Linked DNA regions of Homo sapiens: region 1 is linked to region 2. The links are contacts of gene promoters, found by promoter capture Hi-C in blood cells and fetal thymus (Javierre and others, 2016). All regions are on one chromosome and are shown on one strand. The core of a region is centred on a gene start or on the middle of the fragment in contact, and the rest is flanking DNA. Distances in the headings are between cores, read along the strand shown.

Region 1 (6,597 bases), core at 3,817-6,316, 3.5 Mb after region 2:
ACTCCCAAACACCACAGTTCTTCAGAGATTTGCTCTTGCTACCTAATCAACATTCTAGATTCCACAAGTAAATGAAGAATGCCAAAACGAAGAACCTCAGGATAAAAAAATCAGGGCACAAATTTTAATCTGGTTCTCTCTGATGACCCTCAGATAGCCCCTGCACAAAATCAAAAGGGAATGTAAGTGGTGCATGGAGCTGGTATTTTAAGTTCAAGAGTGTTGTCCCCTCCATCCCCCTGCACATTGTAAAAATATTTAAGTACACAGTACAGATTAGGAACAAAAAAATCTTATGCCTTCAGGTACCAACGTTTTCATTTAGGAATTAGGAAGAAAAGAAACACTGAATTATTCCACACGAAAATAAAAATGTCATACTATGTGACAGTCATTGAACCCTCCCTTGGTAATGTGCTTTTATTTTTTATTTTCTTTGAGACAGAGTCTTGCTCTGTTGTCCGGGCTGGAGTGCAGTGGCACGATCTCAGCTCACTGCAGCCTCCATCTCCTGGGTTCAAGCAATTCTCCTGCCTTAGCCTCCCAAATAGCTGGGATTACAGATGCGCACCACCACACCTGGCTACTTTTTTTATTTTTAGTAGAGATGGGGTTTCACCATGTTGGCCAGGCTGGTCTCAAACTTCTGGCCTCAAATGATCCAGCCACCTCGGCCTCCCAGTGTGCTGGGATTACAGGCGTGAGCCACTGCACCCGACTGGTAATGTGCCTTTTAAGAGACTGCAGTTTGAGCTATACATAAAGTGATAATTATTGCATCACTGGCAGCAAAGAAGTTGTCTGAAGGACAAGTGTGAGGGCACCATGCCAATTCTGCCAGGGAGCCCTAGCCTAGGTCAGCACCTTCACACCCTTCCAGCTTTTCTCAGAAGGCTCTTTACCAGCTGCAGGTGTTTTCACAATGGCTTCTGGCAGGAAAGGCAAATGAGGAGGGACCAAAAACAGTCAAGGGTTGGAGGGACAGCAATCCATACTTTCCATAGGCAATACTGTGTGCTCATTTAGCAAATGGAGACAATACCACCAAAATGTAGAAAATTATGAGGCTACTGTGAAGATTAAATGAGAAAAGATGTGTATGGTCCCTGCCACAGGTTAAACACTCCATAAATGGCTGTGGTGATGATGATGATTATGATGAGTGGTGTTTACAATTCAAAGAGATGGAAAGGCACAATAACTAAGTTCTATTAATTAACCTGCACACTGGGCTTGCTGGTTCATACCTGTAATCCTAACACTTTGGGAGGCCAAGGCAGGCAGATTACTTGAGGTCAGGAATTCAAGACCAGCCTGGCCAACATGGTGAAACCCCATCTCTACTAAAAAATACAAAAATTAGGCCAGGCGCAGTGGCTCACGCCTGTAATCCCAGCACTTTGGGAGGTCAAGGCGGGCAGATCACCTGAGGTCAGGAGTTCGAGACCAGCCTGGCCAACATGGCGAAACCCCATCTCTACTAAAAATACCAAAAATTAGCCGGGGTGTAGTGACGGGTGCCTGTAATCCCAGCTACTCAGGAAGCTGAGACAAGAGAATCGCTTGAACCCGGGAGGCAGAGGTTGCAATGAGCCAAGATCGCACCATTGCTCCAGCCTGAGCAACAAGAGCAAAACTCCATCTCAAAAAAAAAAAAAAAAATTAGCCAGGCATGGTGGCGCATGCCTGTAATCCCAGCTACTCGGGAGGCTGAGGCAGGAGAATCATTTGAACCCAGGAGGTGGAGGTTGCAGTGAGCCAAGATGGTGCCACTGCACTCCAGCCTGGGTGACAAGAGCAAGACTCCTTCTCAAAAAGAAAAAAAAAAATTTCACCTGCTAAACACATTCACAATCCATCTACTTTCCCCATCCCAACTAACACTTCTCAGCAAAGGCCACAGCCAATTCTTGTCTGGGCAACTACTGTAGCCACCTAAACTGGTCTCCCTGGTCAGCCTGCTATCCCCCCTCCAGACCCTGACCTTCACAGCAATACAAGTGAAACTGAAAGATAAAAGGCATATCTGATCATGTCACTCCCCTGCTAAAACTCTTTCAGTGGCTTCCCCTACCCTGTGAATGCATCTGCATTCTGTAGCAGAGCTACCAGGCCCCAATGTGGCCTCTGTCTGCACTCTCACCTGTGGCCATCAGATCCCTCTAGTCCCTGATCATTTACACTCCTCCTATCCCCACCTGCCTTAGAGCCTTCCTGAGGGCTGTTTCTCTGCTGGGAAGCTTCCTCCTGCCAAATCCTTCATCCTCCTCATTCAGATCTCACCCTAAATGTCACCTCTGTAAGGACACATTCCCTGACCCTCAGACCAGGGTGGGAGGTCTCCCATTACAGTTCCCAAAAACGCCCTGGGACTCTCCTTGATGCATTTCTCAGTCTTGCAATTTTCTTAGTAATTTGTAGTTATTTAGTGGCTGCCTTCCCCAAAGGCCTGCTGCTCTAACTCACCACTGGATCCCCAGTGCTCAGCACAGTGTTTAGCATATGATGAGTGCTCAGTAAGAATTTGCTAGCTGACTGCCTAGGGAAGAGTGGCATAGGGGTATTGAAGCCAGGAGTTTGCTTCCATTCCTAGACACCTGGATAGCATTGCTACCTCCAGGTTGCTTAGTCTCTCAGGGCCTCAGCACCTGAGGCCAGCATAATCTGCCAGTGGCATCCTCTGCAGAAAAAAAAAAAAAAAAAACACCTCAGATTTTCAGCTACTCTGAGAAGAAATCAGCTGGTGAAGTTTCTTCTGTCTTCACCCCATTCATGGCCTGGCCATGATGACCAAAGACCCAAGCTGAACCCTGAATCAGCCAGGGTTCTGCCAGGAAACAGCACATTTAACTTGGGCAAGTTGAGGAGAGTTTAATGAAGGGACCACTAATGTGTAGGCTGGGTGCAGAGAAATGAAAAGCAATGGTAAGGAATTCCAAGGCCAGTAACAGTAGAGGAGGAGCCAGTTACCACTCATAGACCTTAAGAGTCTGGAGAGAGAAGTAGTCACAGAACCTTGAAACATCAAGGGTAACACAGAGGGCAGCTTTCTAGAATTCAATGCTTTCCACCGGGGGCAAAGCCAGCCTTCAATAACTTCTCAGGGAGGGAGCGGAGAGAATCAATACCCTGACCTCACTCTCCCCTCATTCCAACACAATGGAAGCAAGACGGTAGGACAGCTGGTATTTATTCCACACAGGACAGCCACACAGGGCACAGAGCACGGTGGAGGGGCTGAAACAGAAGATATCCAACCCATGCCATCCCCTCTGTGAGGCTAGCAGTTAAGTATAGTGAAAATGCAGAGGTTGGGCTCTGAAGTCAGGCAGACATGGGCTTGAATCAAGGCTCCTCAACTTCTGGCTGTATGACCTTGTCAAAGGACTTATTGGCTCTGAGTCTTAAGTTACTTCTATAAAATGAGCATGATAACATCTACTGCATATGCATTTAAAAATTACTAAGGCCAGGCACGGTGGCTCAAGCCTGTAATCCCAGCACTCTGGGAGGCCGAGGTGGGTGGATCACCTGAGGTCAGGAGTTCCAGACCAGCGTGGCCAACATGGTGGACCATCATCTCTACTAAAAATACAAAAATTAGCCCAGTGTGGTGGCAGGCACCTGTAATCCCAGCTACTCAGGAGGCTGAGGCACGAGAATCGCTTGAACCCGGGAGTCAGAGGTTGCAGTGAGCCAAGATCGCGCCACTGCACTCCAGCCTGGGCAACAGAGCGAGACTCCATCTCAAAAAAAAATAAAAATAAAAATTACATAAACCGGGAGCAGTGGCTCACATCTGTAATCCCAGCACTTTGGGAAACAGGTGGGAGGATCACTTAAGCCCAGGAGTTCAAGGCTGCAGGGAGCCATGATGGGCCACTGCACTCCCGCCTGGGCAACAGAGCAAGCCCTCATCCCTTAAAAAAACAAAAACAAAACAGTAAAGATTCCAAAAGATGATGCTCGTAAAGCACTGAGCACAGCATCTGGTACACAGTGAGCGCTTTCATTCATGGTAATTGTGTTACTATGACTCACCCTTCTCCACAACTCTCTGCTGTCCTGCCTCCATCCAGGACACCCCAGGGAAAAGAAAGACCTGCCTATTCCTGTTAAGGTCTAAATGACAAGCGAGACCGAGGGTCTGGACTTTAACAGGACTATGAGGAGTGGGGTGAAGGAGCATGAAAGTAAGGCCTCCACTCTCCACCCTCGCCATGCCTCTAGAGTGGCTGCCTTCCCTACCGGCAAGTTGGGGGTTACCGGGAGTCTCCCGTGTTTCTCGTCTGTTTTTCATGCAGGGAGCTGAGCAAGACTGGCCTCCTTAAGACAGTGGTCCAGCAGCGTGGACTCCAGACTGGGCTTTGGCGTCAGAGAGACAGGCTTCTGCCACGTATCAGAAGCGCAAACTTAGGCGGGGCCTGAGCATCTTCATCTGTGAAATGGAGACACTAAACGGAACCGATCTGACAGGGTTTGTGGGAGCATTAAATGGGATAATGATGTAAATAAAGCACGATGCACAGTTCCTGGCTCCTAATACGGCCACAACAATGTCGGTATTTGATATAATGTTATTAATAATAAATTGCTTATCACCAGAGGGTATGCCTCAGCAGCGCTTACCGCACTGTCCCTCCTGGCTACCAGCCACGGGCTGAGGGCGGCCTGAACGCGGCCCAACCACCCCCGGGCTCCCGTCCACCGGCCCTCAGCCCACCGGCCCCCTTTCGCGGGCCACCAGCGGGCGGTGCGCGGGGAGAGAAGTCGGGGAGACGCGCCCGGGGAGACGCCAAGAAGGGGCGAGTCGCGCACCGCCGGCCTTCGCGCAGGTCCAGAGCGTCGCCCGGGTGGACCTCAGCTCGCCCCATCATCTCATGCACCGCCCCCGGCCCACACTCACCCTCCACGCCGCGGACGGGAAGTCCCAGCACCCACAGCAATACTTGCCACCAGCCGAGGAGCCGCATGACGCGGGGCGGTCGTCGACCGGCAGCCGGGACCATTGCCCAGGCCGAGAGGCAATCGGCGCACGGCTACGCGAGTCGTGCTGCCAGCCGGAGGAAGGCTGGGGGAGGAGAGCCTGGGAGCGCGGGCGCGGCCCCGCGCCGCCATCTTAACACCTGGCAGCTGTGGCGGGCGCCATCTTGGAGTCGGGCGGACGGCCTCTAGCCGCTGGCCGTCGGCGCTGGACTGGAGACCTCTTTAGGAGCTAAGCGCCAGACGTTGCAGGTCGTTTTGAACTCTGCTGACCCCAGAGTGCAGAGCATGGCTCTGGCAGAGGCCCATGGCCTCCTTTCTTCCCTCGGAAGTCAGAGCTTGGCTACTTGAAGCACTGCGCCCGCCTAAGGAGGGTTTTCCACGCTTCATTCCCAGAGCCAGAAAGGCCCAGGAGCCTTCCTGTTCTAGTGTCCCATCGAGGTGCAGAAACTTTGGAGGCTGCAAATCTTCTAATCGCTTGCCTAACCTGTGCTCCCCTACCTAGGGTTGCCACATAGAATACCTGATACCCAGTTATATTTGAATTTCACATAATGAATATTTTTTACTATAACCCTTATAGTATAAGGGATATACCTTAAAACTGAGCATCCTGTAACTTCGTGACATCTGGCAACCCTAACCCTACCTATCCACTCAGGGCAGGAGAGGTTGGTTTTAACTGATTTACCTTGCAGGGCAATCTCTTTTTAATCATGGTTGGGGCCGTGAGCATCATTGGCTCTGGCTCATGGTGGAGGTGGAGCCACCTCGAGCATAAAGTAGATAGGAAAGGGCTTAGAATGAAGAAAGCATAGATGGGGAGATGAGGAACAGGGCTCTGCATTCCCAAGCAAACGCACAGAGCGGGAGTCTTAAGAGAAAATTCTTGGAATAGAGAGGATGACACCACTAATTGGGGTATTTTGCCGGGGGGCCTGCTAAAATGGAATAAGGCAAGCTTTAAGCAGCCACCAGTCAGTGCTAAATCAGTGCAGAGTGCAGCTTTTCAAACTTATGAGGTTGAAAAAATAGAAACTGATTTAAAATACATCAGTCTATTGGTTAACATAGCAATGGTAAGGGGAACCTGTGCTTTTTGGCCGCTTGGTGAATCCCAACTTCAGCACATGTGATAGTTCACAGTCAGCAGGTTATGTAACTTAAAGTTAAGTTTCTTCAGCTGTAAAGTGGAAATGACGTTATATAGAGTCTTATAGATGAAATGAGATGTAAAGTGATGAGCACAGTGTCCTGGGGCACAGGAAGCATTTCAAAGTGGTAGGCATTATTAATTGAATAATACAATTCTGATGGTGTGGCCATAGTCCCCTTATCTCTATGCCCATCAAAAAGACACTGTTAGGCCAGAAAGATGCATCATTAATCTGTCCCTGTGGATGATTCTTTTATTCTAAATACGTTGGTATGGTTTTGCTGTTGTAGATCCTCAAGTGCCATCTTGTGGGTCCAGAAGAATATGAAACAATGGACATGGATAAAAGAGCCCACAGTTCTAGAGCTTATTACTAGTCATCATTTCGCTAAGTACCTCCCTCACCCCTAACAGTGGAACAACAAACCTTTCCTTTTTAAACTATCTTTCTCATACCC
Region 2 (6,760 bases), core at 3,416-5,915:
CAAACAATCTTCCCATCTTGGCCTCACAAAGTGCTGGGATTGGCGTGGTGTCTCACACCTGTAATCCTAGCACTTTGGGAGGCTGAGGCAGACGGATCACCTGAGGTCAGGAGTTCGAGACCAGCCTGGCAACAAAGTGAAACCCCGTCTCTACTAAAAAATACAAAAATTAGCTGGGCATTGTGGCGCCCATCTGTAATCCCAGCTACTCGGGAGGCTGAGGCAGGAGAATCGCTTGAACCGGGGAGGCAGAGATTGCAGTGAGCCGAGATTGTGCCACTGCACTCCAGCCTGGGCAACAGAATGAGACTCTGTCTCAAAAAAAAAAAAAAACAAATGAACAAAAAACGAAGTGCTGGGATTCCAGGTGTGAACCACCACACTTGACCTACATACTTTGATATATATTCTCATTTTTTCTTACAATCATCAAATGAAACAAAACCTTCTCTTTGACAAATGAAACAGCCCAAGAAGTTAAGTGACTGCCCACATGGTAGGCAAAGGTACTCTCAAAAAGCAGTCTAAAAGCCCTTGCTTTTCACCACTAAGCTGTTCACCTTTTTATTATTAATTAAATTAATAATTTAATTATTATGAATTAAATGGTTGAGTTAAAAGTAGGCATTGGCTCATTTGCAAAACATTGAAAGAAACTGAGACCCAAAACAAAACAAAAAAAACAAAACAAAAAAAAAAACCCTGCAAGTCAAGTTTCAGGCCTCATTTCAAAGGAAGGTTACATCCCCTTTCGTCATCTATAAAATGGCCTCCCAGTGCAGCCCAACACTCCTACCCATAATTAAATCTCCTTATTCCACTTTTAGTTCCCAAGGATTTTTTACTCATGTCCTGCTCTTTCCCTGCTGCCCCCTTTTTAGTCTTTTGTTCTTGAGCCACTGCTTTGAACTGCATCTTAATTATGCCCTCATGGGCCAAACCCCATCTGTGACCCTGCTCCAGTGGGTTTCAGCAAAGGATACTCTCCATCCATATTCTGAGGGCTCCAGGGCCTGGAGCCAGTCATCCAGGAGGTCATCCAAAGGAGTGGAATCCATTGGTTCTAAGACTCTTCATTCCCTGCCTAGGAAGGAACAGCCGAGTTGGAGGAACATGCACTCGATTCAGACCTTCCCTTTTCACCCAGTGAAAGCTAAACCTCTGCAAAGTGGGGAGAAGTAGGGCTAAGCCTACCAGTCATAAAAAGAACCAGGAATAGAAAACACACCCCTCAGCCCCTCTGCCCTGCAGAGGCTGGCTGGGAGGATCCCAGGAATGCAGGGCTCTTCTCCACTGCCTGATCTGGGCATCCCAGGAGTGATGGCTGTACCTCCTGTTCTTGTTTGGTGTTTCAGGGTGAAGCCCGGGCTGTCACTGTGCCCTGGCAACAACATGTATGAGTCAGACTGAGGTCAAGGTGAAGGAACACAGCTCACTGCTTATCACAGTGAATCAGGAGCCTAGATAGGGATTCCCCAAGGATGACATAGGATCAATGCCCTCAATCCAACAGAAAAAGTAAATCTTCAAATCAGATTAAACACCAAACTTCCCACCTCCCTAATATTCTTTCTTCTGGGAAGGATAACTTAGATATATTCCAACACCCTCATAAATCAAGATATAAAAGACAATATTTGACTTCCCTTTAAAATAATTCTACCATTTCACAGTTTGTATGTATGCATGTAAACTTACATGTAATTAGCTAAGTATGTTGCAATTAGCTAAGCCAGCTGGAATCATGAGGAGATAGTGAAAATGTTTGCTAGGAAAACAACCTCATTAACAAACGTAGAGCTTTTAAGAGTTTTGTTGGCTGGGCATGGTGGCTCACACCTGTAATCCCAGCACTTTGGGAGGCCGAGGTGGGTGGATTACCTCAGGTCAGGAGTTTGAGACCAGCCTGGCCAACACAGCGAAACCCTGTCTCAACTAAAAATACAAAAATTAGCCAGGTGTGGTGGCGCATGCCTGTAATCCCAGCTACTCAGGAGGCTGAGGCAAGAGAATCACTTGAACAGAGGTTGCAGTGAGCTGAGATTGCGCCATTGCACTCCAGCCTAGGCAACAAGAAAGAAACTGTCTCAAAAAAAAAAAGTTTTTTTGTTGTTGTTTTTAGGAGACAGTCTCACTATGTTGCCCAGGCTGGCCTCAAACTCCTGGGCTCAAGTGATCCTCCCAAGTAGCTGGGACTACAGGCGCACCACTGCATCTGTAAAAAGTCTTAAGGGCGGCCGGGCGCAGTGGCTCATGCCTGTAATCCCAGCACTTTGGGAGGCCGAGGTGGGTGGATCATTTGAGGTCAGGAGTTCCAGAACAGCCTGGACAATATGGTGAAACCCCACCTCTATTAAAAATACAAAAATCAGCCAGGCGTGGTGGCGGGCACCTGTAGTCCCAGCTACTCGGGAGGCTGAGGCAGGAGAATAACTTGAACCCAGGAGGCAGAGGTTGCAGTGGGCCAAGATTGCGCCACTGTACTCTAGCCCGGGAGAGAGCGAGACTCCATCTTAAAAAAAAAAAAAATACTCTTAAGAGCTAGGTGTATAAGTTCCATTTGAGAAATCTCAGAAACTTATTTTTGGGGCTAGATTTTTGGAGAATTTGTTTTAGGAATGCTGCAACTTTGTCAGAGTGCTCAGATTTTAGTATATTTCCATCACCTGACATTGAACTAAAGCCACTTGGCTGACACCTTTGTTGTGACCACCCACAACTGCACTTACTTGAGGACCTGGTGCAGAAAGCACTGGTAGCCAGGTGTGCACTTGCCATAATCTATCTGCTTTTGCCACCAATAGAGAATAACTTTGTCTCTACTTCCCACCTGCAGGGAAGTATACAATTTCCCACAAAGTGTGATTATACTGTAGTCGTCAAAGCAGATAACAACTCATCCCACACTCCCTTAATCCCCAGCCTGATTTTCAAACTCACCTGGCATAGCAAGGTTCTGTGCTAACTCCTACACTCACTGTCTGTATCCTAGAGGACAAAGAATCTTCACACATCTCCTTTCTGGGGAAGCAGGTTCTGCAGATGAAAAGGGTATTAGGATAAAAACCAGCTGGCTACACTGTGCCTCTCAGCCACTACCACCACCAAGATCCTGACAACAGACACAAGTTGCATTTTGACTTTTGTTTCTCAAAGCATGATCTGCAAGCCGTCTGCATGGGTAGCACCTGGGGGCCTTGATAATGACCCCACTTTAGACCTATCGAATTATCGTTTTTGGAGCCTACATCTTAAAGAGCTTCCAAGGTTATTTTGAACATTTTTATTATGGAAATTTTCAAATATACATTGAAGTAAGAAGTATGGGGTAATACCTTACCACGCAAAGTATGGTCGTAGGACCAGCTACCTCACCATCAGCTGGGGGCTTGTTAGAAGGGCAGAATCTTGGGCCGCAACCGCAACCCAGACATCCCGAATCAGAATCTGCATTTAGCAGGTCCTCAGGTGGTTAGTGTGCAAATTAAACCTTGAGAAGCACAGATATGATGGACCCTCCTGCCCCCATCACTCAACAGTCAGGGTCAATCTTGTATCATCAATACCTTCCCCCAGCACAGGATTATTTAAAAGCAAATCCCTAACATTAGGAATGTCTTTTTGTTTGTTTCACTCTAATGCCCAGGCTGGAGTGCAGTGGCGCAACCTCTGTCTCCCGAGTTCAAGCAGTTCTCATGCCTCAGCCTCCCAAGTAGCTGGGATTACAGGTGTGTGCCACCACAACCGGCTAAATTTTGTATTTTTAGTAGAGACGGGGTTTCATCATGTTGGCCAGGCTGGTTTTGAACCCCTGACCTCATGTAATCTGCCCGCCTCGGCCTCCCAAAGTGCTGGGATTACAGGTGTGGGCCAACGCGTCCGGCCAATAATTTATAAATATCACCTCGTCAATGTTCAAATTTTCATTAATAACCAATCTTTGAGGTCCTCTGGATTGCGATAAGGATTATACCAAGATGATTTAATTCCTCCACTTTCCCTGCAACGGAATTTCTTTTTACCCACGTGAGCTAGAGTCTCTGAGATGCTGCACACTAAAAGAAACACCAAACAAAGCTCTTGGAAGGGGCTAATGCCTCTCAGCATAAACACACACACCCGTCTCGCCCCAACACTTGCCACGCCGGCAGCAAACGCTCCATCTCCCGTGGAAGGCCAGCAAAACTTAGAAGAAAACGTCCGCGAAAACGGCACGAGAAAGAAGCGAAGAAAATGAAACGCTTACAACACCCTCCACCCAAAATAATCTCTCCTAGTATTACCCTAGTGAATGGACATCACTAGTAAGGCGCGGTTTAAATCTCCCGGGGTTCGTGGGGCTGAGGGAACGAGGAAAACAGAAAGGGTGTGGAGATTGGTGAGAGGGAGAGCCAATGATGCGCCAGGCTCCCCGTGAGGCGGAGCTTACCCCGCAGCCTGCCTAACGCTGGTGGGCCAAACACTATCCTGCTCTGGCTATGGGGCGGGGCAAGTCTTACCATTTCCAGAGCAAGCACACGCCCCCAGGTGATCTGCGAGCCCAACGATAGGCCATGAGGCCCTGGGCGCGCGCGCGGAGATTGGCTGACGCAGCTTAGAGGCGAGCGGGGATAGGTTACTGGGCTGGCGGAAGGTTTGAATGGTCAACGCCTGCGGCTGTTGATATTCTTGCTCAGAGGCCGTAACTTTGGCCTTCTGCTCAGGGAAGACTCTGAGTCCGACGTTGGCCTACCCAGTCGGAAGGCAGAGCTGCAATCTAGTTAACTACCTCCTTTCCCCTAGATTTCCTTTCATTCTGCTCAAGTCTTCGCCTGTGTCCGATCCCTATCTACTTTCTCTCCTCTTGTAGGCAAGCCTCAGACTCCAGGCTTGAGGTAAGTCCGCAGCCGTCTCCGCCACGGAATCACGGAGACCCCATTGTCCCCCTTAGGGTCCAGTCGGGCCCCCACAGACAGAGGTTGGGAGGGCCGAATGGGGACTATCGCGAGTTACGAGACCCGGGTTCTTTCTAGTCAGGAGTCTCGAGCTGTGTGGCGTGGAACAAGTCAAAATCCTCTCTTCATTCCATCTTTAAGGTCCTAAGGTTGCCTCTCGTCGGTGAATTCAGGTTCTAACCTTAAGCCAGGCTGTGAATCACCCTTCGGGGTTGCCCCTCTTCCAGTGTTGATTCGCCTGGCTGGAAAGGGTGGAGGAGTTTAGGAAAGCTGAGGGAACTGTGATGTACCGATTTAGATGACGTTTTCCTCCTAGCTAGGTTTTGTTTTTCTCCTGGTGAGAATTCGAAGACCATGTCTACGGAACTCTTCTCATCCACAAGAGAGGAAGGAAGCTCTGGCTCAGGACCCAGTTTTAGGTCTAATCAAAGGAAAATGTTAAACCTGCTCCTGGAGAGAGACACTTCCTTTACCGTCTGTCCAGATGTCCCTAGAACTCCAGTGGGCAAATTTCTTGGTGATTCTGCAAACCTAAGCATTTTGTCTGGGTAAATATACTTTTATTTTTACACTGTATTGCCTTTGCTATTTCCAAACAGTTGGGTTTGTTTGTTGGTTTGTTTTCAATTATCCCGGCTCAAAGGTCAGGCTTTAAGTCTCAACTCTGCCCTTGACTGTGTAACCCTTTTGAGTCTCACCTTCTTTTCTGTGACAAGAAATAATCTCAGCCAGGCGAGGTGGCTCATGCCTGTAATCTCCGCACTTTGGGAGGCCAAGGAGGGCGGATCGCCTGAGTCTAGGAGTTCAAGACCAGCCTGGGCAACATGGCAAGACGCCGTCTCTACAAAAAATATTAAAAGTTAGCTGAGTGTGGTGGTGTGCACCTATAGTCCCAGCAACTCGGGAGGCTGAGGTGGGAGGATTGCTTGAGCCCGGGAGGTGGAGGCTGCAGTTAGCCAAGATCGCCTCACTGCACTTCAGCCTGGGAAACAGAGTGAGACTCTATCTCAAAAAGAAAAGAAAAGACAAAGAAATAATAATCGCTTCCTATCTTACTAGGATCTTGTGAGAATCAAATGATGTGATAACTGGGAAAAGTCTTTGAAAACCGCTGCATTACGAGTCGGTCACTTTATTAGTATTAATATTAGTGTTATTGCAGTTGTACTTTGAATTCTGATCATACCATGTCTCAACTAGCAAAGAGAAGTAGTACCTGAGAAAAACTAGGGACCCCAGGGAGAAATCAAGCCTGTGTTCATAGTGCTCAGGACCGGGAATGTGGAGTCAAGATCCCCCTCGGCCAATAAACTCTGGGCCTCATTTAAAAAAAAAAAAATTATCTGTTTCAGTATGTTGGTAAGGAGAAAATAAAGTACAGATTATGGTAGTGGGAGATTTTTCTCAGCCCAGTCTGATATATTTCCCAAAAGCAATTAGATTTATTTGGACACTGTTCAGATGATCTGATAGTCATTAAGGGGTGTTTCAAATGAACAGGCTTGGCCAGGCGTTGTGGCTCACACCTGTAATCCCAGCACTTTGGAAGGCCGAGGTGGGTGGATCACCTGAGGTTAGGAGTTTAAGACCAGCCTGGCTGACATGGTGAAGCCCCATCTCTACTACAAATACAAAAATTAGCTGGGCGTGGTGGCAGGCGCCTGTGATCCCAGCTATTTGGGAGGCTGAGGCAGGAGAATCGCTTGAACCCGGGAGGCGGAGGTTGCAGTGAGCCAAGATCGTGCCACTGCACTTGAGCTGGGGGGACAGAGCAAGACTCCACTGCAAAAAAAAAAAAAAAAAAAAAAGAAGAGGATGACATGATC

Evidence for each region. Contacts are between HindIII fragments. The CHiCAGO score rates a contact against its expected background, and 5 or more counts as called.
Region 1: a contact is called between the fragment with the promoter of TXNDC15 here and the fragment with the promoter of CDC25C in region 2, in 1 of 17 cell types (erythroblasts). The highest score is 5.7, in erythroblasts.

What each region holds. Positions count from the first base shown.
Region 1 is chr5:134,872,840-134,879,436 of GRCh38, reverse strand. TXNDC15 (thioredoxin domain containing 15) reads right to left here and starts at 5,066. Exons shown (of 5, transcript NM_024715.4): 1 at 4,907-5,066. The coding sequence starts at 5,009. LOC124901071 (a long non-coding RNA gene) reads left to right here and starts at 4,039. Exons shown (of 2, transcript XR_007058943.1): 1 at 4,039-4,193; 2 at 4,305-4,606. RefSeq lists enhancers at 1,961-2,020, 4,431-4,500, 4,394-5,099, 5,031-5,320, 5,341-5,390 and a silencer at 4,681-4,790. The HindIII fragment of the contact is 3,704 bases long and covers 2,243-5,946 here.
Region 2 is chr5:138,329,709-138,336,468 of GRCh38, reverse strand. It overlaps CDC25C (cell division cycle 25C), which reads left to right and starts at 4,665. Exons shown (of 14, transcript NM_001790.5): 1 at 4,665-4,874; 2 at 5,251-5,482. The coding sequence starts at 5,289. It overlaps LOC100128966 (a long non-coding RNA gene), which reads right to left and starts at 4,364. Exons shown (of 4, transcript NR_146628.1): 1 at 4,284-4,364; 2 at 2,941-3,036; 3 at 984-1,084. RefSeq lists a silencer at 4,343-4,602 and enhancers at 4,653-4,702, 4,713-4,842, 4,554-5,507. The HindIII fragment of the contact is 22,786 bases long and covers 1-6,760 here.